Regions from separate parts of the Homo sapiens genome. Here region 2 is linked to region 1. Evidence: promoter capture Hi-C in human tissues and cell types (Jung and others, 2019). All regions are on one chromosome and are shown on one strand. The core of a region is centred on a gene start or on the middle of the fragment in contact, and the rest is flanking DNA. Distances in the headings are between cores, read along the strand shown.

Region 1 (6,899 bases), core at 1,454-3,953:
ACACCTGTAATCCCAGCACTTTGGGAGGCCAAGGCAGGCGGATCACAAGGTTAAGAGTTCAATACCAGCCTGGCCAACATGGTGGCCAGGTGAAATATGGTGAAACCCCGTCTCTACTAAAAAAACAAAAATTAGCTTGGCTTGGTGGTGCATGCCTGTATTCCCAGTTCCTCGGGAGGCTGAGGCAGGAGAATCGCTTGAACCTGGGAGGCAGAGGTTGCAGTGAGAGCCGAGATTGTGCCCCTGCACTCCAGCTTGGGCAATAGAGCAAGACTCCATTTTGGAAAAAAACAAAAATACAAAGATTAGCCGGGCATGGTGGCACGCACCTATGTAATCCCAGCTATTCAGGAGGCTGAGGCACAAGGATCGCTTGAACCTGGGAGGTGGAGGTTACAGTGAGCTGAAATTGTGCCACTGCACTCCAGCCTGGGTGACACAGCAAGACTCCATTTCAAAAAAAAAAAAAAAAAGTCTAAGCCATGCCGGGATTGCCCTCTCTCTACTCTCTTTTTTCCCCATATCCCTCCACCTCCTGAAAGCCTTCCTCACCTTGGTGTGGGTCAAGGTTCATTAATTCATCCAACAAGCATCCATGTACTGGGCCTGGAGACTAGAACAATTAATTCAGTTGTCCGCCAAGGTTCTGTCCCCAGAGAACTTCTAGGTTGGCTGTGGAAATAGACACATAAATGCATCATTTTATTTCAGCCTGTTTGGGGCTAAGGAAAGGATTGCACAGAGGTTGCTACTCATAGGAGATGGGAGAAGTCTCCTTGTGGGTGGTTACAGCTGGTAGTAACAAGAGGACAATCTGGCTTCAACCATAACTCTAAGAGGTGGCATGTCTTTATTAAGGGCAAGGGAGTGGCACTGGAGTGCTGATTAATGCCTACTGGTTGGCAGACATTAATCAGAAAGCCTAAACATGCCCTGCCTTGTGAATTCCCGTTTCACTTTCCGGGCTCTACTGAAGTGTTCCTTCCTCTGGGAACATGAACACCAATGATATTTTGAGCCATTGTTATGCGTCAGATTTCGGGTTAACAGCTTTACAGATATCTCCTCTAATTCTCATAAATGCCTCATTTCACATGTGAGCAAACTGAGACTCAAGAAAGGGGAAGAGATTTCCCAAGAGTCTCAACTACTACCTTGGCAGCAGAGCAAGAATTTGAAACCTGGTCAGGTTCACTTTAAAAAAGGCTGTACTAGCCGGGCGCAGTGGCTCACACCTGTAATCCCAGTATTTTGGGAGGCTGAGGCGGGTGGATCACTTGAGGTCAGGGGTTTGAGACCAGCCTGGCTAAACCTTGTCTCTACTAAAAATACAAAAATTTAGCTGGGTGTAGTGGCACACACCTGTAGTCCCAGTTACTGGGGAGGCCAAGGCAGGAGAATCTCTTGAACCCGGGAGGTGGAGGTTGCAGTGAGCCGAGATCGCGCCACTGCACTCCAGCCTAGGCGACAGAGCCAGACTCCATCTCAAAAAATATATAAAAAATAAAATAAAAATAAAAAAGGCTGTATGGCCAGGCGAGGTGGCTAACCCCTGTAATCCTAGGCACTCTGGGAGGCCGAGGAGGGCGGATTGCTTGAGCCCAGGAGACCACCCTGGGCAACAGCTCTACAAAAAATAAACAAATTAGCCAGGCCTGGTGGCTTGTGCCTGTAGTTTCAGCTACTCGGGAGACTGAGGTGGGAGGGCTGCTTGAACCCGGGAAGCGGAGGTTTTGGTGGGCGGAGAGCGCGCCATGCCTTCCAGCCAGGGTGACAGAGCGAGACCCTGTCTGAAAAAAAAAATTAAAAAATAAAAAAAATAAATAAAGGCTGGGGCCAGGCGTGGTGGCTCACGCCTGTAATCCCAGCACTTTGGGAGGCCGAGGCGAGGGGATCACCTGAGCTGAGGAGTTCAAGATCAGCCTGGGCAACATGGCGAAACCCCGTCTCTACTAAAAATACAAAAAATTAGCCAGGCGTGGTGGTGCATGCCTGTAATCCCAGCTACTCAGCTACTCGGGAGGCTGGGGCAGGAGAATCGCTGAACCCGGGAGGCGGAGGTTGCAGTAAGCCGAGATCGCGACACTGCACTCCAGCCTGGCACCCTGGGCGACAGAATGAAGCTCTGTCTCAAAAAAAAAAAAAAAAAAAAAGGTGTAAATGCTCTTTGCAGTTCCATATACTGCCTCCCCAGAACCTTTATGGAGTTGGATTATAACTGCCTGAGCCCGCCCCTCCCGTCCATCTCGCGCTTTAAATTCCTCCGCGACGTGAGCCTCGGTTAATCGTCTTTGAAAACTCTGGCCCCTCCTCCCGTCAGCACCCCCAGACTACTGGCGCCCAGCTCAGAGTTGCCCAGATTGGGAGATCTGCAAGGTTTCCCGAAGGAATGAATGAACGAATGACTGAATGGACGAATTTGAGTCCTCCGTGTGCCATCTCTGGTAGCTGCCGCCCACGTTGGGCCTCGGTTTCCCCAACTGCGCGCCTACACCGTGACGCCGACCTCGCTATCAGGGGTGCCGTGAATGAGGCGAGCACTACAAGGCGGGGCTCCGGCCCTACCAGGCGGGGCGGGCAGTACCACGGCGTTCCTCGGGGGCGGGGGAGATGAGGCGGAGCCGGGGCTCCCCCGCTGCGGCGCCATTGGCCGCGCCCGCCGCCACCCGGCAGTAGTTGCGGAGGTCAGCCCCGCCTACTTCCTCTTTCCCTCGGAGCGGGCGGCGGCGTTGGCGGCTTGTGCAGCAATGGTGAGAGCTGCGGAATCGGGCGCCATCCGAGCGCTGTGAGGCGCGGGGGTTGGGGAAGGCGGTGCGGGCTGAGCCCGCGGATTCTATCTGCCACCTAGGCCTGTGGGGCGCCGCGCAGAATGGTCTGGCGCCACCACAACCCGCCTCTTCGCTTGGCGCCGGGAGAGGCGCGCGGCCCGGGCCTGGGTTACTCTGCCCAAGGCACGGCCGGCGAGGGAGACTGTCCTGAGCCCTGGTTGGGGCTCCGGCGCACTCGTAGTCGATGGCGAGTCGCGCGCCTTTGGGGGCTGGCCACGCAGGTGAAGGGGATATGGCCCCGCGGCCTGGCTGAGGCACACTCTCTCTTGCGCGCAGGCCAAGATCAAGGCTCGAGATCTTCGCGGGAAGAAGAAGGAGGAGCTGCTGAAACAGCTGGACGACCTGAAGGTGGAGCTGTCCCAGCTGCGCGTCGCCAAAGTGACAGGCGGTGCGGCCTCCAAGCTCTCTAAGATGTAAGTGAGGCGGCCGGATCACAGCCCTCGTGGGTGGGGAGCACGTGTGCATCGGGATCGTCGGAGGATTTCAAAGTTGGCTTAAGGAGCTGGCCGCTTAGATGCCCACTCCGTGCATCCTGGCGCGCATGGGAGACCCGTTGTGTGCTTAGCCTCTTACCTGCCTTGACCTTGCGGTCCTTGTGCCTGGAATGCATCCCCGGAGACCCATCTTAATGCTGCCTTCAAAGCCTACCCGGACCCCTTCCTTCCGCTTCCCACCAACACTTGAGTTTTTAACCCCCTTGGCAGGTGGGTGGCTTGCACCCTGGAGTGGCAGCGTAAGTTATTTTACATGGCTAAGAGTGCGGGAGACTTGTGAAAGGAACATGGGTTTGGAGTTCATCAACCTGGGTACAAAGTCCACTTCTCAAAAAAAAATTAGATGGGTGTGGTGGTACAGGCCTGTAGTCCCAGCTACTCTGGAGGCTGAGGCAGGAGGATCACTTGAGCCCAGGAGTTGGGAGGCTATGATGGGGCCACTGCTCTTCAGTCTGGTTGACAGGTGAGACCCTGTCTCCAAAAAAAAAAAATGGTGGTTGCCCTCTTTGCCCCCAAACAACCTTAGTAGAGGCAGGGGTGGGAGGATTGGACAAGCACAGTTGCACACTGAATCCTCAAAAACCATGTTGACCAGCTGTCTACTAGGTGACTCCCTCATCCTGACATGACTACAAATAACTTCTCCCTGGCTCGTTGTTTGCTTCAGTCTCCTGGCTTGTAGTGACTCCACTTTGCAAATGTCTTGTTTCTCTCTCCTGCAGTTCCCTAAGCTAGCCTGATTGCCTGGTTTGTGGCATGATTCCTTCCCATCAGCTCATTGAAATTGGCATTGGTTGGGTCTTAGCCCTCAGGATAAATTCGTGTTCTGGGATTGAAGGTCTTTTTCTGATCTGCCTCATTTATCCAGCCTGCACTTCCTCATAAAGCCTCTGCTGTCTCTCCCATGCCCCTCTCTTCCCTCCTCAGACCTCACTCCCAGAACGCCTTCCTCCTGAGTGAATATGGATGGGTTGATGGGGGAGGCTGCAGCTATTGCTGCCCTATGTGTGAGTCCTGAGTCTTGGGTAGTGCTATGTGTCTTCCCTATCTTCACTGACATCTCTGTTTTGTAGCCGAGTCGTCCGGAAATCCATTGCCCGTGTTCTCACAGTTATTAACCAGACTCAGAAAGAAAACCTCAGGAAATTCTACAAGGTGAGTCTGCCTGGACATAGGGAGGGTTGGCTGCAGGAAGCCAAGTGCTAGCCGTCCCTGGCCGGGGACATGGTAAAGAGGTTTTTCTTGGTGCGTGGGCTGAGAGTGGTTAGCCTTCCCAATTTGTTGCTGGGCTCACTCTTCTACCAGTGTCTTGCACTGGCACGTGGCTCTGCAGACCACTTCCTCAGGCTGCAGATGTCAAGAATTCATTGGGGCTTGGGGTGTCCTGGCTGGAGACTCAGTTTTTGAAACCAGCCTTCCCAGTTGAGTGGCTTGGGCAGTGATAGGACTGGCTGTTGAAGGTTTTCACTGCCTCTTACTGGCACTGGGTGTCAGTCCCTGCCAGGCACCTGCCATGCTCATTTTTCAGATGAGGGCCCTGAGGCCTAGACACCCACAGTCAATGGCATGATGGGCCCTGGTTCCAAACCTTACCTTGGGGAGGGTCGGCTTTAGTGTTCTGGGAGGTGTGCACAGGTGTCTGGCCCCCTCTTAGTCTTGAATTTTGATAACCATTTTCTGGTCTTGTCCTTAACATTCATCTTATTGGGGTTCAAGCAGAGAAAACTAGGGGGAGACGGTGTGTGCACATGCATCCAATGTATTCTGAAGAATGGGCATAGGTGATTGTGGGGGCTGGCTGGGACTCAGGGCTCAGGTTGAAGCTGCTGTTCCCAGTGGGTACTTGGAGGGAGCCTCAGCCCTGTGCTTAAGACTTACAGCTGATTGGATCGGGCCTTCTGGGATTACCCAGGATAATCTCCCCTAAAGTTACCTGATGAGGGTCTTTAATTTCATCTGCAAAATGGTTCCACATCACTACCCAAATTGTGTTTGAATAACTTGAAGATTTGACACAAGGGAAAAGCAGCCATGGCTGATGAAGTGCCACAGGCCTATAACCCCAGCTACTGGGAGGCCGAGGCAGGAGGATGGCTTGAGCCCAGGAGTTAAAGTGTAGCCTGGGCAACATAGTGAGGCCTCATCTCAAAAAAATGAGAAGGGCCATAGTGTGGCTATGTTAGCTGTTCAGGGGACACTAGCACGTGTGTGGCAAAAGTAAACCTTTAATGTCAGCAGCTACGTGTGTGGCTAGTGGCTGCTCTGTTGGACAGCAGAACTCTAGGGGGTTAGCCAATGTGAAAAGGACGAATGCCCAGCCGATGCCAGCAGGAGTGAGGGATGTGGGAGGACAAAGACTTTCCTGCTTCCAAGTACCCTCCAGGGCTGGCCCTCATTGTCCAGGATCTTTCTGCAGTCCTCTGCCCACCTGCAGGGGCCTGGGGCCCTGTGACCTCAGAATCCCCCATACCATGGGCCACTTGTTACCTGTTCAGTCTTCCCCCACTAGGCTGGGACCCCTGAGCAGGGACTGGGTCAGATCCTTTGCCAAGCCAGCTCCCAGCACAGGGCCCAGTCCTGAAGGGGGCCCAGGGGACCTTTGCAGAACACAGGAGAGACCAGTGAGAGCTGCCATGGTCTAGAACCCCCTGCTGGAGAACAAGTGGGGCAGGAGTGGGAGCCAAGGATGGAAAGACAGATGATGGCTCTGTGACAGCTGTGGGCAGGGGCCCCAAAGCCGGAAGCAGGTGGGGCAAGTGGCCTTGGCCAGCCAGGCCTCTGAGGCTGGACGTTCATACAGGCAGCAGCTGGTGGGCCCTGCATACAGATGGACAGAGTACTGCCTCAGCCCCCAGCATGCTCTTGCTAACCAGAGCCGAGGTAATGGTAACTACCCCCGGGGCTTGGTGGGTGCTGCGTGCCCTGTACTAGGTTGTCATGTGACTGTCCTCGTGACTGGGAATCGGGCAGTGGAAGGAGCACTGAGTTGGGAGTCACTTGACTGAGATGCAAGCCCCGGCTCTTCCACAGCTTTGCCAAGACTTGGACACTCAGCCCAGTAGGTCAGCAGACTTACATGAAATGAGGATGGTCCCACCAGCCTTAGATTTGGGGGGATTAATTGAGTTAGTGACATGTGTGGCCTGCTGGCAGTCCCATGGTGGCAGCCTCCTCCTGAGTGGCTCTGGATGGCCCTCCCCAGCCCCCTTAGCTGCTGCAGTAGCTCCTCAGCCCTGGGTCCTTGGATTCACCCTGCCGTCTGTCTCCCAGGGCAAGAAGTACAAGCCCCTGGACCTGCGGCCTAAGAAGACACGTGCCATGCGCCGCCGGCTCAACAAGCACGAGGAGAACCTGAAGACCAAGAAGCAGCAGCGGAAGGAGCGGCTGTACCCGCTGCGGAAGTACGCGGTCAAGGCCTGAGGGGCGCATTGTCAATAAAGCACAGCTGGCTGAGACTGCTTTGTTTCCTGGCACTTCCACTGATTGGGTGGAGGTGGGTGGGTCTGGTTTTGGGGACCAGGTGTCTGATGGGTTCCAGCAAGCGTCCTGCCCACCACAGTTGTCTGCTCTGGTGGGG
Region 2 (6,777 bases), core at 3,285-5,784, 1.0 Mb before region 1:
TACGTATCTAGTATTGTTACACTTCTCCTGTCTAATTGGACCATTTATCAAGATATAGTGTCCCTCTTTATCTCTAGAAATGTTTATTATTATATTTTTATTTCTTTTTTTGAGACGAGATCTCACTCTTTCACCTAGGCTGGAGTGCAGTGGCATGATCATAGGTCACTGCAACCTCAAATTCCTGGGCTCAAGCGATCCTCCTGCCTCAGCCTCCAGAGTAGCTAGGAGTACAGGTGTGTGCCACCACATCTGGCTATTTTTAAAATTTTTTTGTGAGATGGGGGTCTCGCTATGTTGCCCAGGCTGGTCTGGAATTCCCAGCTGGACAGGCATGAACCACTATGCCCAACCTAGAAATGCTTTTTGCCTTCACTTTCAAGTTTACTTTATCTGATATCACATAGCTATTCCTTTCCTTCTGCTAGTGGTTGGTATACCTTTCCCCATCATCTTACCATCAACTTTTCTGTACCCTTTCATATAAGGGATGTCTCTTGTAAATAAGTGTGTTGTCAGGTTTATGTTGTTATTTGTTTGGTACCTATTTGTTTGTTTAGTACCCTCTGACAATCTTTACTTTTTCTCTTGCAATCTTTTAAAATCCTTTAACATGTGCTGTGGTAAGATATATGTAGATTTATTTCTCCCAAATCATTTTATACTTTCTATTTGCCCTGCTTTTGTTTCTTCTATTCTTCTCCTTTCTTGCCTTCTTTTGGATTGAATCAGTTACTCTAATTTTTTCTGCCCCTACCATTTCATTTTTCTTACTTTACTAGTCTGGAAGCTATACAATCTATTCAATCTAATTTTTTTAATGGTTACCCCATAAACTTCTTCAATATCAGTATTTCAAAGCAAGTTTTTAAATTATAAGATATATACACAGAAAGATGCATTTTTACACACATACATAGAAAAAGACCACAGAGCATCATCCATGTAACCACTACCTAGGTCTAGAAATACAACTTTGTCACCTTCCTAGAAGCACCTTTGTGCCCTATCTCAATATCAATTCTATTTTTGCCTCTAGAGCTCTGTCCCATAGAAATGTAATGAGAACCCCATATGTAATTTTAAATTCTCTAGCAGTCACATTTTAAAGCTTTTTTAAAGTAAAACTAATTGTAATATATTTAATTAACCCAATATATTGGAAATATTATCATTGTAACCTATAATCAATACAAAGATTTATCAGTAAGATATTTCAGTCCTTTTAATAACATTACCATCTATGCAGCCCTAACACTATAGCTTCATTCTTACTTTGTTTGAATTTTATATAAATGGAATTATATAATGTTTTCTGTTATACCTTGCTCTTTCATTCAACATTCTACATGTGCTATTATGTTCTTGAATGTGGAAGAGTTCATTCCTACTCATTGCTGTGTCATATTCCATTGTTGACCTATTCATTATTGTTGTCCATTTTATTATTCATGAACACCTGGGTTTTTTTAGATTTTTTTTTTTTTTTTGAGACGGAGTCTTGCACTGTCACCCAGACTGGAGTGCAGTGGCGCAATTTCAGCTCCACCTCCCGGGTTCAAGTGATTCTTCTGCCTCAGCCTATAGCTGGGACTACAAGCACCCACCACCACACCTGGCTAATTTTTGTATTTTTAGTAGAGATGGGGTTTCACTATGTTGGCCAGGCTGGTCTCAAACTCCTGACCTCATGATCTGCCCACCTCGGCCTCCCAAAGTGCTGGGATTACAGGCGTGAGCCACTGCATCCGGCCTATTTTTTCTAGTTTTTAGCCATTGTTTACAATAATGATTTAAACAACTTTTTACACGTCTCTGGTATACATGTGAGTTTTTCAAGACTTTATATCTAGAAGTGGAATTGCTAGATTGGTAGGGTATGTACGTATACATGCCTTCAATTTTGCTAGGTAATGTTCCAAGCTGAAATTATTCAATTTATATACCCACCAGTGAACAAAAGTTTCTGTTGCTCCACACCCTCAGCAAAACTTGGTATTATAAGACTTTGTAATTTTTGACAATTTGGTATATAAACAATGTCTCCCTGTGGTTTTACTTGTATTTCCTGATAATCAAAATTTTATTCTTGTCCAGACAATAAATGAACCTTAAAATGATTTAACTCTGACCACCACTCTCTTAACTTACATCCAAGATTTAAGTTATCTTGTTCTTTAATCTCTACAAATTAGATATTATTTTACATGGTGATAGGGTTTGGCTGTGTCCCCACCCAAACCTCATCTTGAATTGTAGCTCCCACAATTTGTGGGACAGACCCAGTGGGATGTAACTGAATCACGGGAGTGGGTGTTTCCTGAGCTGCTCTCATGATAGTAAATAAGTCTCATGAGATGTGATGGGGTTTTTTTGTTTGTTTGTTTGTTTGTTTGACAGTGTCTAGCTCTGTCAGATCACCCAGCCTGATATGATGGTTTTATAAGGGGGTGTTTCCTTCCACAAATTCTCTCGTCTGCCACCATGTAAGATGAGTCTTTCAGCTGGGCGTGGTGGCTCACACCTGTAATCCCAGCACTTTGGGAGGCCAAGGCGGGTGGATCACTTGAGGTCAGGAGTTTGAGACCAGCCTGGCCAACATGGTGAAACCCCATCTCTACTAAAAACACAAAAATTAGCCAGGCATGATGGCGCACACCTGCAATCCCAGCTACTTGGAAGGCTGAGGCAGGAGAATCCCTTGAACCCATGAGACAGAGGTTGCAGGGAGCTGAGATCGTGCTACTGTCTCAGTGAGCTGAGATAGTGCTACTGTCTCAGTGAGCTGAGATAGTGCAGCCTGGGCAACAGACTGAGACCGTCTCAGAAAAAAAAAAAAAAAAAGATGTGCCTTTCGCCATGATTGTGAAGCCTCTCCAGACACGTGGAACTGTGAGTCCACTGAACCTCTTTTTCTTTATAAATTACTCAGTCTCAGGTATGTCTTTATCAGCAGCGTGAAAAGGGACTAATACACATGGTTTACCCTTATCCACAAATTTTACCAAAAATTTTTACATGGTCAATACTCATCCACAAATTTCCTATTTTCCTTTCTCATTATTGTTGCTACTCAGACATTCCTTCTGAGGGTTTTTGTTTTTTTCTTAAAATATATCCTTTAGAAATTATTTTAGTGGAATTCTATTGGTAGTGAAAGCTTTCAATTATGAGTCTGAAGATACCTTTATTTTGCCCATGCTCCAGGTATTTTCCATGGAAAGACAATTCTAGGTTGATAATTCTAGCTAATTTCTCTTAGCACTTTGAAATTATTTCATTGATTCTAGCTCATATTGCTCCTGCTGAGAAGTTAGCTGTCTGTTTATTCATTGTTGCTCTTTTCTCTGATTTAGAGAATGTTTTTTCTTTAATCTTTTGGGTTCTGCAGTTTCATTATAATACTCCTTGGTGATGTTATCTTCCCATTCATCCCAGTTAGAATTCACCGAGCTACCTATTTGAATACCAGTATATTTCATCAATTCTGACATATTCTCAGCTAAATATCTACTTGAATATTGCTTCTTCTCCAATTTTTTAATTCTTTATTTCTGGAACCATAAATTAAATGTTTGTTGGGCTTTCTTACTCTATCCTCTTAACATCTTTTTCATATTTCTATCTCTTTGTTGTACTGTATGCTAGGTAATTTCTTCATATCCATTGTCCGCTAATTCTCATCTTAAGCCATTTCTAAGAATTTTCTTTGCTTTTTACATCTGTCTTATTACTTTTAATGGTGTCCTGTTTGGTTCAACATACTTTCAATCTTGAATTTTTAAAAAATATGCTTACCTTATTTGCTGTACCTGATGATACAAATATCTTCAGACTTTCTCAGCCTGATCCTGCAGTTTGATGTTGCTGCTATCTCATAGTCATGGTGGCTTTTTTAACTCAGGCATTTTCTTTTTTTCTGCTTCTTCATTGTTTAATTGTGAGCCTGTGGCCCTCAAAAATTCATCTGTGTGAATTTTTAGACACCTGTGTTTTAAGTGCTTTCCTCCAGAAAAGACAGGCATTTTACAGATGCCTAGGAGTACTAACAATTCACTTCAAACTGAATTTTCATCATGAACCTTCTTGGGCCATAAGGAAAATACGATTTCCATTACCAAATCAACTGAATGTAGGGTATCGCTAAGGTCTGTCTCACCTGGGGCCATGGGCAAGTTCACTCTGTGAGAGTACTCTCCTTTTAGAGGTTCTGGCTTTATGTGAAGAGCTCTGATTTTGTTTCTTAAGCTGCACATATGCCTTCAAAACCTACATTCTAGGTCAGCACTGACAGACACCCCCTACTCCACGCCCCTGGAATAAATGCCAGCTCTCATATCTGTGGAATCACTCTCTGTCCTTTCTTCTGGCCCACATTATGTCTTACTTCACTACGCTGGCTCAGCCATGCTTTGGAAATGAAGTTCTTTACTGTACAGCCAGCATGTTTAAGTGTTCTATGCCAGGTGAGGTTTTTCTGCACATTCAATCTACCCATATGGCTAGAAACTGAACTACAATCTATTTTCAAATGTAAATAAAATCAATGTAACATCTCTGGTTTTCGTTTTCTTTATAAAATGGGTATAACAGTACCTACTCATAGGGTTCTTATGAAAACTACATGAATAAATTCATACAAAGTGCTTGGCACAGTGCCTAGAACACAGGAAGCATGTAAAAAAAAAAAACTGCAGTCTGGGTGTAGTGGCTCAGACCTGTAATCCCAGCACTTTGGAAGGCCGAGTTGACCAGATCACTTGAGTTAAGGAGTTTGAGACCAGCCTGGACAACATTGTGAGACCCTGTCTCTACAAAAAATATGAAAATTACCAGGCGTGGAGGCATACACCTGTGGTCCCAGCTACTGGGAAGGCTGAGGTGGGAGGCTAGCTTGAGACCAGGAGGTCAGGGTTGCAGTGAATCATGACTGTGTCACTGCACTCCAGCCTGGGAAACAAAACAAGACCTTGTCTCAAAACAAAAAAACAAAACAAAAGCAAAACAAAACAAATATATGTATGTGTGTGTGTGTATATATATATGTATGTGTATATATATATGTGTATATATATGTGTGTGTATATGTGTGTATATATGTGTGTGTATATATATATAGAGAGAGAGAGAGACAGAAAGACAATCATCATTGTCATAATTGATTTGGGTGCAATATTATAATCTACTAAATTTTGTTTTGTTTGTTTTTGTGGTTTTTTTTTTTTTTTTTGAGATGGAGTCTTGCTCTTGTTGCCCAGATTGGAGTGCAGTGGTGCCATCTCGGCTCACTGCAACCTCCACCTCCCGCATTCAAGTGATTCTCCTGCCTCAGCCTCCTGAGTAGCTGGCATTACAGGTGCGCACCTCCATGCCCAGCTAATTTTTGTATTTTTAGTACAGATGGGGTTTCACTATGTTGGCCAGGCTGGTCTCGAACTCCTGACCTCATGATCCACCCGCCTTGGCCTCCCAAAGTGCTGGGATTACAGGTGTGGGCCACCACACCCAACAATTTTGTTTTTTAGAGTCATGGTTTTACACTTGAATAGTTATTCCTCCAGCAACATTTAAAAATTCAAACATCTAAAAATGTATTACCCATGGCTTCTATTCTTTTATTCAAATAATTGATTTTTTTTTTTTAATACTTCAGGGAGGACCGGGGACACATCTATGGTGAATGGTCCTAACGACATCAATGTAGGGTGAAATGCATCATTTGTGTGCTTGTTAAACTACACTTCTCAAGCTTCCTTTGAAATCCCTTCATGGTATTATTTTTGTCAAATGATCACTGAGGGATATGATAAGAAGATCCCTACTAACAGATGTCACAAGACCCTAGATTTGCCATTACAATTGCTTTGTAATTACACATATGTAGTACAACTTATGTTTACCTAACACAACCATGAAAATCACGTCTTTATGGATGACTTAGGGGTGAAAAAAGCAAGTAAGACAAAAAATTTAGTTGCCTAATCAAAGAGTAATCAAATTCAGTATTGAGGTACCATGGAAATCACCAAAGTATAGCTTTGGATACTGTCAAGAAGGAATATTAACACTTTCAAGAAAAATCATTGTTGACATTTTTGAAATTTTTTAAGCAGAAATATTATGCTATTTTAAAACAAAGTTACAAATAACATCTGCCATTTTAGAACAAAGGATAGCCCTGTTAGCTAGAAACGAGATATAGAAGCTGAAAAACCATGAATCTGTAAACCTCCCCGGACACATACAGAGGCCTCTGGTCCTTTCTCATTCCTCTAATAAAATAGCCATGATGATTGTTTCTTTGTTTCCCTCTTACAATCTAGGCAGAGAGATGTCTTTGTTCATCTTTTTTAACCTGTTCTATAATGTTACCTCTCTTTCCACTAGAATGTAAACCCCACAAGGGCAGCAGATAGTTAAGTGCAAAGAATGAGATTAACACACAATAAGCACCAGTAAATAATTAATGATTTCACTTCTAGTTAGAATAATGCCATATTTTAAACTAACCCCCCATAAAAGTATAAAATAACTATACAGATATTTAATTGTGATTCAAGCAAATACACAGTATGTGACAAAACTGACAAAAAAGGCAACATGGAATATTATGCAGCCAAGTAAAGATGATGACATAGAATGACTTGCTAACATGGAAAGATATCCACAATATACTATTCAGTGAAAGATGCCAGCTACACAACAGCATAGTTAACTCACTTTTGAAAATTAATATATATGTGTTTAGCACTATTTAGAAGAGTGGTAATCTCTGAG

Evidence for each region. Contacts are between HindIII fragments. The study calls those that stand out against the background at their distance.
Region 2: a fragment that was not itself captured here is called in contact with the fragment with the promoter of RPL35 in region 1 in 1 of the 25 tissues and cell types used here (lymphoblastoid cells).

Annotation. Positions count from the first base shown.
Region 1 is chr9:124,857,761-124,864,659 of GRCh38, reverse strand. RPL35 (ribosomal protein L35) reads left to right here and starts at 2,703. Exons shown (of 4, transcript NM_007209.4): 1 at 2,703-2,750; 2 at 3,105-3,241; 3 at 4,396-4,477; 4 at 6,593-6,777. The coding sequence starts at 2,748. The coding sequence ends at 6,742. It overlaps ARPC5L (actin related protein 2/3 complex subunit 5 like), which reads right to left and starts at 2,530. Exons shown (of 6, transcript NM_030978.3): 1 at 2,262-2,530; 2 at 553-672. It overlaps WDR38 (WD repeat domain 38), which reads right to left. Exons shown (of 9, transcript NM_001045476.3): 9 at 6,782-6,899. RefSeq lists enhancers at 2,284-2,503, 2,944-3,053, 3,094-3,143, 2,579-3,202, 4,191-4,690 and 1 more and silencers at 2,524-2,793, 5,833-6,115. The HindIII fragment of the contact is 10,105 bases long and covers 1-2,992 here.
Region 2 is chr9:125,866,094-125,872,870 of GRCh38, reverse strand. The region is part of intron 2 of PBX3 (PBX homeobox 3); the gene reads right to left. Among named protein-coding and RNA genes, the nearest start is that of PBX3, 120 kb to the right of the region's middle. The HindIII fragment of the contact is 4,796 bases long and covers 2,137-6,777 here.